Regions from separate parts of the Homo sapiens genome. Here region 2 is linked to region 1. The links are contacts of gene promoters, found by promoter capture Hi-C in blood cells and fetal thymus (Javierre and others, 2016). All regions are on one chromosome and are shown on one strand. Each heading gives the region's core, a stretch centred on a gene start or on the middle of the fragment in contact. The rest is flanking DNA. Distances are from core to core; before and after follow the strand shown.

Region 1 (5,990 bases), core at 486-2,985:
GTGCAGACACTGGTTACAAATGAAACTGAAAACATAATGGAAATGATTGTTTTAAAATAAGCAAAAGAACATATATTAACATACACAATTGTATATTTGTTAGTTTTATTAACATTTTAAATTGTTTCTGTTAACTCCAAGTGACATTCATAAAAATCAGCTTATTTAAATCTCAAAATAAATCTCTTTATTCTTTTTTATTCACTTATTTTTTAACAAAGGTGTATACACATATAAATATACACATATACAAATATTCAAACACACACTTATATATGGTAATTGAAAAACACATTTCAATTATATATATATAGGTGAAGACAGAATTATCCTTTAAAGCTGTGTCTGCCTGTGGAAATGAAGTCAAAAGTTGGAGAGTAATTATCTAGATGACTCATGAAAAAGCTTTTTGTAGATAAGGTGGCTGACTTTTTAAGTGAGTAAATACAATTGGTAAGAGCACTTTATTATAAGTAAAATTTTCACATTTTCAAATCTGACCATCATCATAATCCTGAGACATGAGCAGGTAAGCTATATATAAACACCTCTGCTACACAATAATGCATATAAAGTTGAAATATACACTTCTTTTAGGAATTAAACTTCATTAGACCTGATTACTTTATATAAATAATTGGAAAATAATTAATAAAGCCTCAAGATTCCGGTTTATATTCAATATATTGTTTCTCTTCCTTACTTATGTGGTTGATGCCAATTTGTACATGCAAGTGTTTGTAGAAAGGCCATTCCTACTTTGAAGTTCTTACTGGAAAAGGAATATCCCCACTCCTTTCCCTGCTGATCTAGTGGAAAGGAATTGGGTGTTGGAGCCTGAGATTTTGTGTTAATATCCCAGATTGTCTGTTATTTGCTTAAACTTAACTTCTTTAAGCATGAGTTTCCCACCAATCAAATAGGAATAATAAGACCTAATGCAGACCATTCCCTAGGGCAGTCGGTCCTTAGCCTTCCATTGTTTCACCAGTTATCATAACAACATTCTGTTGTAGGCATTATTACTTTTATAATAATAATAAACTTCTGTTTTCATTTTAAAATGACAGATTTAAGAAAACACTCCGCACTTAATGCATACTTTTTATGTTTTAAATGTCAGGCTAGAGATTTTTCTAAAGATCTTTCTCTTTTGTAAAGAATGAATTCAGTTAAGACTTTTAAAGAAATATTTGAAGAGCAGCCATAATTTTTAAGTGCCTCTTGAACTATACGCTGTTTTCTTCTAGTTGCAGATAAAGCAGTCTCCCGATTAGGAATGGGATGCTGGTCATCCCTGCTCTCATTTGATGCCAATGGCAGAAATAAGTAATAAGTTACAATGCTCCTTCTCTCAAAATTTAGAGGTAACTTCAGAATACTTCTCAATAATTCACTCCAGGAAGCCACTAGTAAATGATCAAAGCTGGCACTTGATATGAAAACTCTTTCTCTTCTCTACCACATATCCTTCCCCCATATTGAACCTCTTGTTTCTTTCAAGTATTCTTTAAATTATCTCTATCACAATTCTGTCTGATATTTCAGTACTACCTTCAATAATTTCTAATTTATGTTCTCAATGACAACAGAAGCACTCAATAATTTTGCACTTGGATGTACCAACTTGTTAATGACTATGATACCACAAATTGATCTGAAGCAAATTTTCCTTTGTCCTAATTGCAGACTATACATGATCCCTGTTGGAGCTTTCATCTTTTCCTTGGGAAACATGCAAAACCAAAGCTTTGTAACTGAGTTTGTCCTCCTGGGACTTTCACAGAATCCAAATGTTCAGGAAATAGTATTTGTTGTATTTTTGTTTGTCTACATTGCAACTGTTGGGGGCAACATGCTAATTGTAGTAACCATTCTCAGCAGCCCTGCTCTTCTGGTGTCTCCTATGTACTTCTTCTTGGGCTTCCTGTCCTTCCTGGATGCGTGCTTCTCATCTGTCATCACCCCAAAGATGATTGTAGACTCCCTCTATGTGACAAAAACCATCTCTTTTGAAGGCTGCATGATGCAGCTCTTTGCTGAACACTTCTTTGCTGGGGTGGAGGTGATTGTCCTCACAGCCATGGCCTATGATCGTTATGTGGCCATTTGCAAGCCCTTGCATTACTCTTCTATCATGAACAGGAGGCTCTGTGGCATTCTGATGGGGGTAGCCTGGACAGGGGGCCTCTTGCATTCCATGATACAAATTCTTTTTACTTTCCAGCTTCCCTTTTGTGGCCCCAATGTCATCAATCACTTTATGTGTGACTTGTACCCGTTACTGGAGCTTGCCTGCACTGATACTCACATCTTTGGCCTCATGGTGGTCATCAACAGTGGGTTTATCTGCATCATAAACTTCTCCTTGTTGCTTGTCTCCTATGCTGTCATCTTGCTCTCTCTGAGAACACACAGTTCTGAAGGGCGCTGGAAAGCTCTCTCCACCTGTGGATCTCACATTGCTGTTGTGATTTTGTTCTTTGTCCCATGCATATTTGTATATACACGACCTCCATCTGCTTTTTCCCTTGACAAAATGGCGGCAATATTTTATATCATCTTAAATCCCTTGCTCAATCCTTTGATTTACACTTTCAGGAATAAGGAAGTAAAACAGGCCATGAGGAGAATATGGAACAGACTGATGGTGGTTTCTGATGAGAAAGAAAATATTAAACTTTAAAAAATCCAAAGTTAAGAGTAAAAAAGGTCAAAATGGCCTTAAATAAAAACTTAATGAGATACATCTTTCATGGCAAGAGATAAAGTAATGCTAGAAAAAAATCATTAATGTGGGATCAGAAAACTTATGTGTCCACCCTCAGAAAGCACAAATATGCACCTCCTCAGTCACCTATATAGGCCTAGTCTTACCCCGTGACTCCAAGGGCTCACAACCAACTGCATATTGCACCTCCACTCCCTTCCACCTCTGCAAACTAAGCAAGACATTCTCTCTTTTCTAGGACTAGTGGTTTATTTTAGGCTCTGGGTTCCCTCCTTCACTCTACTTGCCAAACCGTTATACCAGGCGGCTAAAGGCCCTCTCCATGAGCCTTTAAACCCCACACAGCCTATTACCCAACATTTCCATCCTCCAGAAGGCTCTCACATCAGCCCCCATTCTCACTCTCCCAGACCTCACCAAACCTTTCTCCCTCTATACCGCTAACCAGCATGGAGTTGCAGTAGGTGTTCTAACCCAGTCTAAGGGACCCATCTTCCAGGTTGTTGCCTACCTCTCTAATCAGCTTAAAGCTGCAGTTCATGGATGGCTTGCTTGTCTCTGAGCTTGGCAGCAGCTGCTGTCCTCACTCTTGAAAGCCTAAAATGATCTCTCCATGCCAACCTAACAGTCGATTCAACCTGAAACATCAAAGACATGTTAGCTCACTGCTGTGTACTAAGTCTCATCTCTGCCCCACAGCTCTTCCAACTGTATGCTCTATTCATAGAAACTCCCCACATTACCATGCTAACCAGCTCCCATCTAAACCCAGCCATGCTCTTACCTGAAGCTACAACCACCCAAGACCCTATACAATTCGGTGTGAATGCTGCTCTTACATTTTTCCAAACATAACAGACCAACACCTTCCAGATGCCTCCTTTACTTGGTTTGTAGATTACCCAGTCCTGCTCTGTCTGCTACTCAGTATCACCCCAAGGTTCCCTCCAGCCACAGCCTTTTCCTACCCACCAAGCCTGGGGCCTGGTATCCAGGCAAGATTGGCAAGTAGACTTCACTCACATACTGCCCAATAAATGGTTCTACTATCTTCTAGTCTTTGTCTGTACTTTCTTCGGGTTGGTAGAAGTGTTCCCAACAACTTCAGAACATGCAAATGTCATCACACAAACTCTCATCATGCATATAACTCCCCATTTTGAACTCCCAACATGCATCCAATCCAATAACAGGCCCGCCTTTTATCAGCCAAATTACCTAAGGCGTCTCTACACCCTTCAGGCCTCAATCTTCAGGCAAAGTTGGAAAGGTCAACTCTGTCCTTAATGCCCAACTCACCATGCTGGCCTTAGAAACCTGCTAGTCGTGGACAAAAAAAAAGTTCCCTTTTACCCTCGTGAGACTCCATGCAACACCAAAAGCACCCTTTTTATAGTCCCTTTGAAATCATGTGTGGCCAAACTTTAGTCTTAGGGCCTTCACCCTTACCAGACTCTGAGCCACTCAGGAGTTACCTCTCCTCCTTAATCCAGACATGGTCTTTCATTAGTGAAACAGCAAATGAGGCCATACCTCTCCCTGTAGACACCTCCTTGTCCTCTCAACATAAATGTCTTGCAGGCACAGACATATTTATCTGCCAACCTGACCCTCACCAAAAACTACAACTGAAGTGGACAGGTCCCTTACACTGTGATACTCAGCACACCAACTGCAGTGAGAGTCTAAGGAATCCCCCACTGGGCCCATCACACCAGAGTCAAGCTCACCCCCAAGGCTACTCCTTCCTCCAAAACATTAACTGCGGTTAACACACTGGGAGTCCCTGTGTATAATAACCTAAACAAAGAAAAATGATCCTTAAAGGTAGGAGGAAGCTAAAGATGGCAAGAAGACGAATGGCCTCCATAATGAATCATTGAATATTACTGTCCTGGCACTTGGGCTGAGGATGTTTCATGGTGTTATCTCACTCCCATATATATGCTAATTAGAATAATTAGATGACAGGCAGTTTTAGAGATAATCGCTAACCAAACTGCCTCAGCCCTGGAAATGCAAGCACAACAACAAAACCAAATGCACGTGTCAATTTATCAAAACAGGCCATTGCTAGATTAGCAGAAGAATGTGGGGTCTGTGGCAAGTTTAATATCTCCAATTGCTGTCTTAACATAGATGATCATGGAAAAGTGGTTCTTGAAATCACTTCAAACATCGGAAAAGTAGCCCATGTACCAGTCCAAACCTGGAAGGGATGGGACCCAACAAACCTTCTAGGAGGGTGGTTCTCTAATTAAGGAGGATTTAAAATACTGGTAGGTACAGCAATCTTCAACAATGGGTTCCTTCTGTTTTTTCCCCTGTGTTATCCCACTAATAGTAAAAGCCATTAAATCTCTTGTTGAAACTACATTTAGTTGCCAGACAATCTAGATGATGCTCCTCCTGTAACGACACAATGGATATCAACTGGTCTCTCAAGAATACCCCCAAAATTAAGTTTTTCTTTTTCTAAGGGGCCCACACCACGCCTATGTCAGGCCTGAAGTAGTTATTGAAAATGTCGTTCCTTTTCCTTTTTCTATAAGCAAATAGACAGGAATGAAAGATTTCTCCCCATGGCTGGAAAACTTGGGGGGATGAATAACTCCTCCCTTCTCAGGCCGAGTCTCAAGGTGCAATGCTACTTCTGCCAGCAGTGTGTGTCAGCAAGATAGCAGAAGCAGGAGGAGAGCCAGCTGGAGGACATGTACCCTGCCTGGAAGACACCTACCCTGGACAGAAGACATGTACCCTAGGAGGAAGACACATATACCTGAAAATCGAGAAAGAGGCCGTCTGGGTACTATGTGCAGTAACGTCAGACTGGGATGCTTTCTGTTTACAGGAGATTATAAAACTGTTGCCCCATCCTCACTTGGAGCTGACGCCATTTTAGGCCTCAGCCCACCTGCACCCAGGCGCTCATGAAAAGAGCATGTTGCTCCACACTGCCTTGTGTTGTCTGTTGGCACACTCTCAGGTTTCCAACCAATACAAGAACCTTTCAGCAAGCAAGTGAAACTCCAAAAGAAGAGATGTACAGCAAAATATACATTAGATCTTAACAGAATTTTGGGAGATCAGGGATTCTCCTGAGGGTGTGCTCTCAGACCTCAGCCAATTGTCCTGTTGGTTTGACCCATAAAGTTAGCTCATGTTGGTACCAAGTTCCAATAAGATATTTGTGAAAGGCCAGGGCATCTCCACTCAGAATCCTTCTGTGGTTACCAAAAATGTGAACCCCAAAAATTTG
Region 2 (5,855 bases), core at 2,952-5,451, 1.0 Mb before region 1:
TTCTTTGGAAACGGGAATATCTTCACAGAAAAACTAAACTGAAACATTCTCAGAAACTTCTTTGTGATGTTTGTGTTCGAGTCACACAGTTTCACATTGCTTTTCATAGAGGAGTTTTGAAACTCTCCTTTCGTAGAATCTGCAAGTGGACATTTGGAGCGCTTTCAGGTCTATAATGGAAAAGAAAATATCTTCACATAAAAACTAGACAGAAGCATTCTCAGAAACTGCTTTGTGATGATTGCATTCAACTCACAGAGTTGAAGATTGCATTTGAAACAGCAGTTTCTAAACACTCTTTCTGTGGGATCTGCAAGTGGATATTTGGACCTCTTTGAAGATTTCGTTGGAAAAGGGATAATCTTCACATAAAAGCTAAACTGAAGCATTATCAGAAACTTCTTTGTGATGCGTGCATTCAACTCACAGAGTTGAACATTCCTTTAGATAGAGTAGTTTTGAAATGCCTTTTTGACGAATCTGCAAATGGATATTTGGACCGCTTTGAGGAATTCGTTGGAAACGGGTATATCTTAACATCGAAACTAGACAGAAGCATTGACAGAAATTTCTTTGGGATCTGTGCTTTCAACTCACAAAGTTTAACCTTTATTTTGGTAAAGCAGTTGTGAAACACTATTTTTGTGGAATCTGCGAGTGGATATTTGGAACGCTTTGAAACCTTTGTTGAAAAAGTAAATATCTTCCCAAAAAAACTAGAAAGAAGCATTCTCAGAAACTTTGTTGTGATGGGTGCATTCAACCCACAGAGTTGAACATTCCTTTTGATAGAGCGGTTTTGAAACACTGTTTTGTTGGAATCTGCAAGTGGATATTTGGAACGCTTTGGGGCCTATGCTGAAAAAGGAAATATTTTCTCATAAAAACTAGACGGAAGCATTCTCAGAAACTTCTTTGTGACGTGTGCGTTCAACCCAAATAGTTGAATATTCCTTTAGATAGAGCCGTTTTGAAATACCCTTTTGTAGATTCTGCTAGTGGATATTTGACTGCTATGTGGAATTCTTTGGAAACGGGTATATCTTAATGTTAAAACTAGACAGAAGCATTCTCAGAAATTTCTTCATGATCTGTGCATTCAACTCAAGGAGTTGAACCTTTCTTTTGGTAGATCAGTTTTGAAACACTATTTTTTTGGAATCTGCAAGTGGACATTTGGAGGGCAGTGAGGCCTTAGGTGGAAAAGGAAATATCTTCCCATAAAAACTACAGAGAAGGATCCTCAGCAACTTCTTTGTGATGATTGCATTCAACTCACAGAGTTGAAGGTTCCTTTTGACAGAGCAGTTTTGAAACACTCTGCTTATAGAATCTGCAAGTGGATATTTGGAAAAATTTGAGGCCTATGGTAGTAAAGGAAATATCTTCATACAAAAACTAGACAGATGCATTCTCAGAAACTTCTTTGTGTTTGGTGAATTCAACTCACAGAGTTGAACATTCCTCTTGATGAGATAGTTTTGAAACACACTTTTGTAGAATCTGTAAGTGGATATTTGGACCTCTTTGAGTATTTCGTTGGAACACGCATAGACTTCAAATTACTAAACGGAAACATTCTCAGAAAATTCTTTGTGATGTTTGCATTCAACTCACAGAGTTGAAACTTCCTTTGATAGTTCACGTTTCAAACAAACACTCTTTTTGTAGAATCTGCAAGAAGACATTAAGAGTGCTGTGTGGCCAGTGGTGGTAAAGGAAATATCTTCACATAAAAAGAAGATAGAAGAATTCTCAGAAAATTCTCTCTGATGATTGCATTCAACTCACAGAGTTGAACATTCCGTTTGGAACAACAGTTTTGAAACACTGTTTTTGTAGAATCTGCAAGGGGATATTTGGACGTCTTTGAAGATTTCGTTGGAAGCGGGATTGTCTTCACATAAAATCTAAACAGAAGCATTCTCGGAAATTTCTATCTGATGTTTGCATTCAACTCACAGAGTTGAACATTCCTTTTGATGGAGCAGTTTTGAAACACTCTTTTTCTAGAGTCTGCAAGTGGACATTTGGAGGGCTTTGAGGCCTGTGGTGGAAAAGGAAATATCCTCACATAAAAACTAGACAGAATAATTCTCAGAAAATTCTCTCTGATGATTGCATTCAACTCACAGAGTTGAACATTCCCTTTGGAACAACAGTTTTGAAACACTCTTTTTGTAGAATCTGCAAGGGGATATTTGGACCTCTTTGAAGATTTCGTTGGAAACGGGATAATCTTCACATAAAAACTAAACAAAAGCATTCTCAGAAACTGCTTAGTGTTGTTTGTATTCGACTCTGAGGGTTGAACATTCCTTTTGATTGAGCAGTTTTGAAACACTCTTTTTCGAGAATCTGCAAGTGGACATTTGGAGGGCTTTGAGGCCTCTGGTGGAAAAGCAAATATCTTCATATAACAACTAGATAGAAGAATTATCAGAAACCACTTTGTGATGATTGCATTCAACCCACAGAGTTGAACATTCCTTTTGATAGAGCAGTTTTCTAACACTTTTTTTGTAGAATCTGCAAGTGGACATTTGGACTGTTTTGAGGACTACGGTAGTAAAGGAAATAACTTCATATAAAAACTAGACAGAAGCATTCTCTGAAACTTCTTTGTGATGATTGAGTTCAACACACAGAGCTGAATATTCCTTTTTATGGAGCAGTTTCAAAACACACTTTTTGTACAATCTGCAAGTGGATATTTGGACTTCTTTGAGGATTTCGTTGGAAATGGGATAAGCTTCACATAACTAAACAGAAGCATTCTCAGAAAATTATTTGTGATGTTTGCATTCAATGAACAGAGTTGAAACTTAATTTGACAGTGCAGGTTGGAAACAGTCTCTTCGTAGAGTCTGCAAGGGGATATTTGGACCACTTTTTGGCCTTCGTTTGAAACGGGTATATCTTCACAAAGAAACTAGACAGAAGCATTCTCAGAAACTTCCTTGTGATTTCTGCATTCAACTCAGAGAGTTGGAAGTTCCTTTTGTTATAGCAGTCTTGAAACACTCTTTTTGTATATTCTGCAATTGCACATTGGCATGCTTTGAGGTCGATGCTAGTAAATATCTTCATATAAAAACTAGACAGAAGCATTCTCAGAAACTTCATTGTGATGTGTGCATTCAACTCAGAAAGTTGAACATTTCCTTTGATAGAGCAGATTTGAAACTCTCTTTTTGTGGAATCTGCAAGTAGACATTTGGAGCGCTGTGAGGCCTGTGGTGGAAAAGGAAATATCTTCATATAAAAACTAGACAGAAGCGTTCACAGAAACTACTCTGTGATGATTGCATTCGACTCACAGAGTTGAACATTCCTATTGATAGAGCAGTTTTGAAACTCTCTTTTTGTAGAATCTACAACTGGATATTTGGACCTCTTTGAAGATTTCATAGGAAACGGTTGTATCTTCACTTAAGTACTAAACAAAAGCATTCTCAGAAACAACTTTGTGATGTTTGTGTTCAGCTCACAGAGTTTAACATTGCTTTCCATAGAGCATTTTTGAAACTTTCTTTTGTAGTATCTGCTAGGGGACATTTGGAGAGCTTTGAGGCCTGTGGTGGAAAAGGAAAAATCTTGACATAAGAATTAGAGAGAAGCATTCTCAGAAACTACGTTGAGATGATTGCATTTGACTCATAGAGCTGAACATTCCTTTAAGAAGAGCAGTTTGAAACACTATTCTGCAGAATCTTCAAGTGTATATTTGGACCTCTTTGAAGATTTCTATGGAAAAGGGAATACCTTCACATAAAAACTAAACAGAAGCACTCTCAGAAACTTCTTTGTGAAGTTTGTATTCAACTCACAGAGTTTAACACAGCTTTTCATAGAGCAGTTTTGAAACATTCTTTTCTTAGAATCTGCAATTGGACATTTGGAGCACTTTGAGGCCTGTGGTGGAAAAGGAAATATATTCCCATAAAAATTAGATAGAAGCATTCTCAGAAATTTCTTTGTGATGATTGCATTCAACTCACAGTGTTGAAGATTCCTATTGTAACAGATGTTTGGAAATACTCTTTCTGTAGAATTTGCAAGTGGATATTTGCACCTCTTTGAGGATTTCATTGGAAACGGAATATCTTCACCTAAAAATTAAACAGAAGCACTCTCAGAAACTTCTTGTGATGTTTCCATTCAACTCACAGTGTTGAACATTCCTTTTGATAGAGTAGTTTTGAAACACGCTTTTTCTAGAATCTGCAAGTGGACATTTGGAGGGCTTTGTGGCCAGTGGTGGAAAAGGAAATATCTATACATGAAAACTAGATGGAAGCATTCTCAGAAACTACTTTGTGATGATTGCATTGAACTCACAGAGTTGAACATTCCTTTTGACAGAGAGTTTTGAAACACTCGTTTTGTAGAATCTGCAAGTGGATATTTGGACCGATTTGAGGCCTATGGTAGTAAAGGAAATAACTTCATATGAAAACTAGGCAGATGCATTCCCAGAAACTTCTTTGTGATGATTGAGCTCACCTCACAGAGCTGAACATTACTTTTGATGGAGCAGTTTCGAAACAAACTTTCTGTAGGATCTGCATTTGGATATGTGGACCTCTTTGAGGATTTCTTTGGAAATGGGATATATTTCACAGAACTAAACAGAAGCATTCTCAGAAACTTATTTGTGATGTTTGCATTCAACTCACAGAGTTGAAACTTCCTTTGATAGTTCAGGTTTGAAACACTCTTTTTGTAGAATCTGCAAGTGGATATTTGGACCACTGTGTGGCCTTCGTTCAAAACGGCTATACCTTCACATAAAAACTAGACAGAAGAAAAATCAGAAACTTCCTTGTGATGTCTGCATTCACATCAGAGATTTGAAACTTCCTATTGATAGAGCAGTCTTTAAACACTCTTTTTGTAGAATCTGCAACTGGACATTGGCAGCACTTTGAGGCCTATGCTAGCAAAGGAAATATCTTCATATAAAAACTAGACAGAAGCATTCTCAGAAACTACTTTGTGATGTGCGTATTCAACTCAGAAAGTTGAAACTTTCTTTTGATAGAACAGTTTTGAAACTCTCTTTTTGTATAATCTGCAAGTAGACATTTGGAGCACTGCGAGGCCTGTGGTGGAAAAGGAAATATCTTCACAAAAAACTAGACAGAAGCATTCTCAGAAACTTCTCTGTGATGATTGCATTCAACTCACAGAGTTGAACACTCCTGTTGATAGAGCAGTTTTTAAACACTCTTTTTGTAGAATCTGCAAGTGGAGATTTGGACTGCTTTGAGGCATATGATAGTATAGGAAATAACTTCATGTAAAAACCTGACAAAAGCATTCTCAGAAACTCATAGAGCTGAGCATTCCTTTTGATGGAGCAGTTTCAAATCACACGTTTGGCATAATCTGCAAGTGGGTATTTGGACCACTTTGAGGATTCCATTGTAAAAGGGATAAAATTGACGTAATTAAACAGAAGCATTCTCAGAAACATCTTTGTGAAGTTTGCATTCAACACACAGAGTTGAAATTTCCTTTGATAGTTCAGGATTGAAACACTGTTTTTGTAGAATCTGTAAGTGGATATTTGGACCACTTTGTGGCCTTCGTTCGAAACGGGTATATCCTCACATAAAAACTAGACAGAAGCATTCTCAGAAGCTTCTCTGTGATGATTGCATTCATCTCACAAGTTGAACACTCCTTTTGATATATCAGTTTTGAAACACTCTTTTTGAAGAATCTGCAAGTGGAAATTTGGACTGCTTTGCAGCCTACGGTACTAAACGAAATAACTTCATATAAAAACTAGACAGAAGCATTCTCAGAAAATTTTTGTGATGATTGAGTTTAACTCACAGAGCTGAACA

Evidence for each region. Contacts are between HindIII fragments. The CHiCAGO score rates a contact against its expected background, and 5 or more counts as called.
Region 2: a fragment that was not itself captured here is called in contact with the fragment with the promoter of OR4C15 in region 1 in 5 of 17 cell types (erythroblasts, endothelial precursors, M2 macrophages and 2 more); the score reaches 12.6 in erythroblasts.

The regions. Positions count from the first base shown.
Region 1 is chr11:55,552,734-55,558,723 of GRCh38, forward strand. OR4C15 (olfactory receptor family 4 subfamily C member 15) reads left to right here and starts at 1,736. Exons shown (of 1, transcript NM_001001920.3): 1 at 1,736-2,686. The coding sequence starts at 1,736. The coding sequence ends at 2,686. The HindIII fragment of the contact is 1,344 bases long and covers 404-1,747 here.
Region 2 is chr11:54,540,262-54,546,116 of GRCh38, forward strand. No RefSeq gene overlaps it. Among named protein-coding and RNA genes, the nearest start is that of OR4C46, 61 kb to the right of the region's middle. RefSeq lists enhancers at 4,551-5,072, 5,073-5,594. The HindIII fragment of the contact is 2,894 bases long and covers 2,755-5,648 here.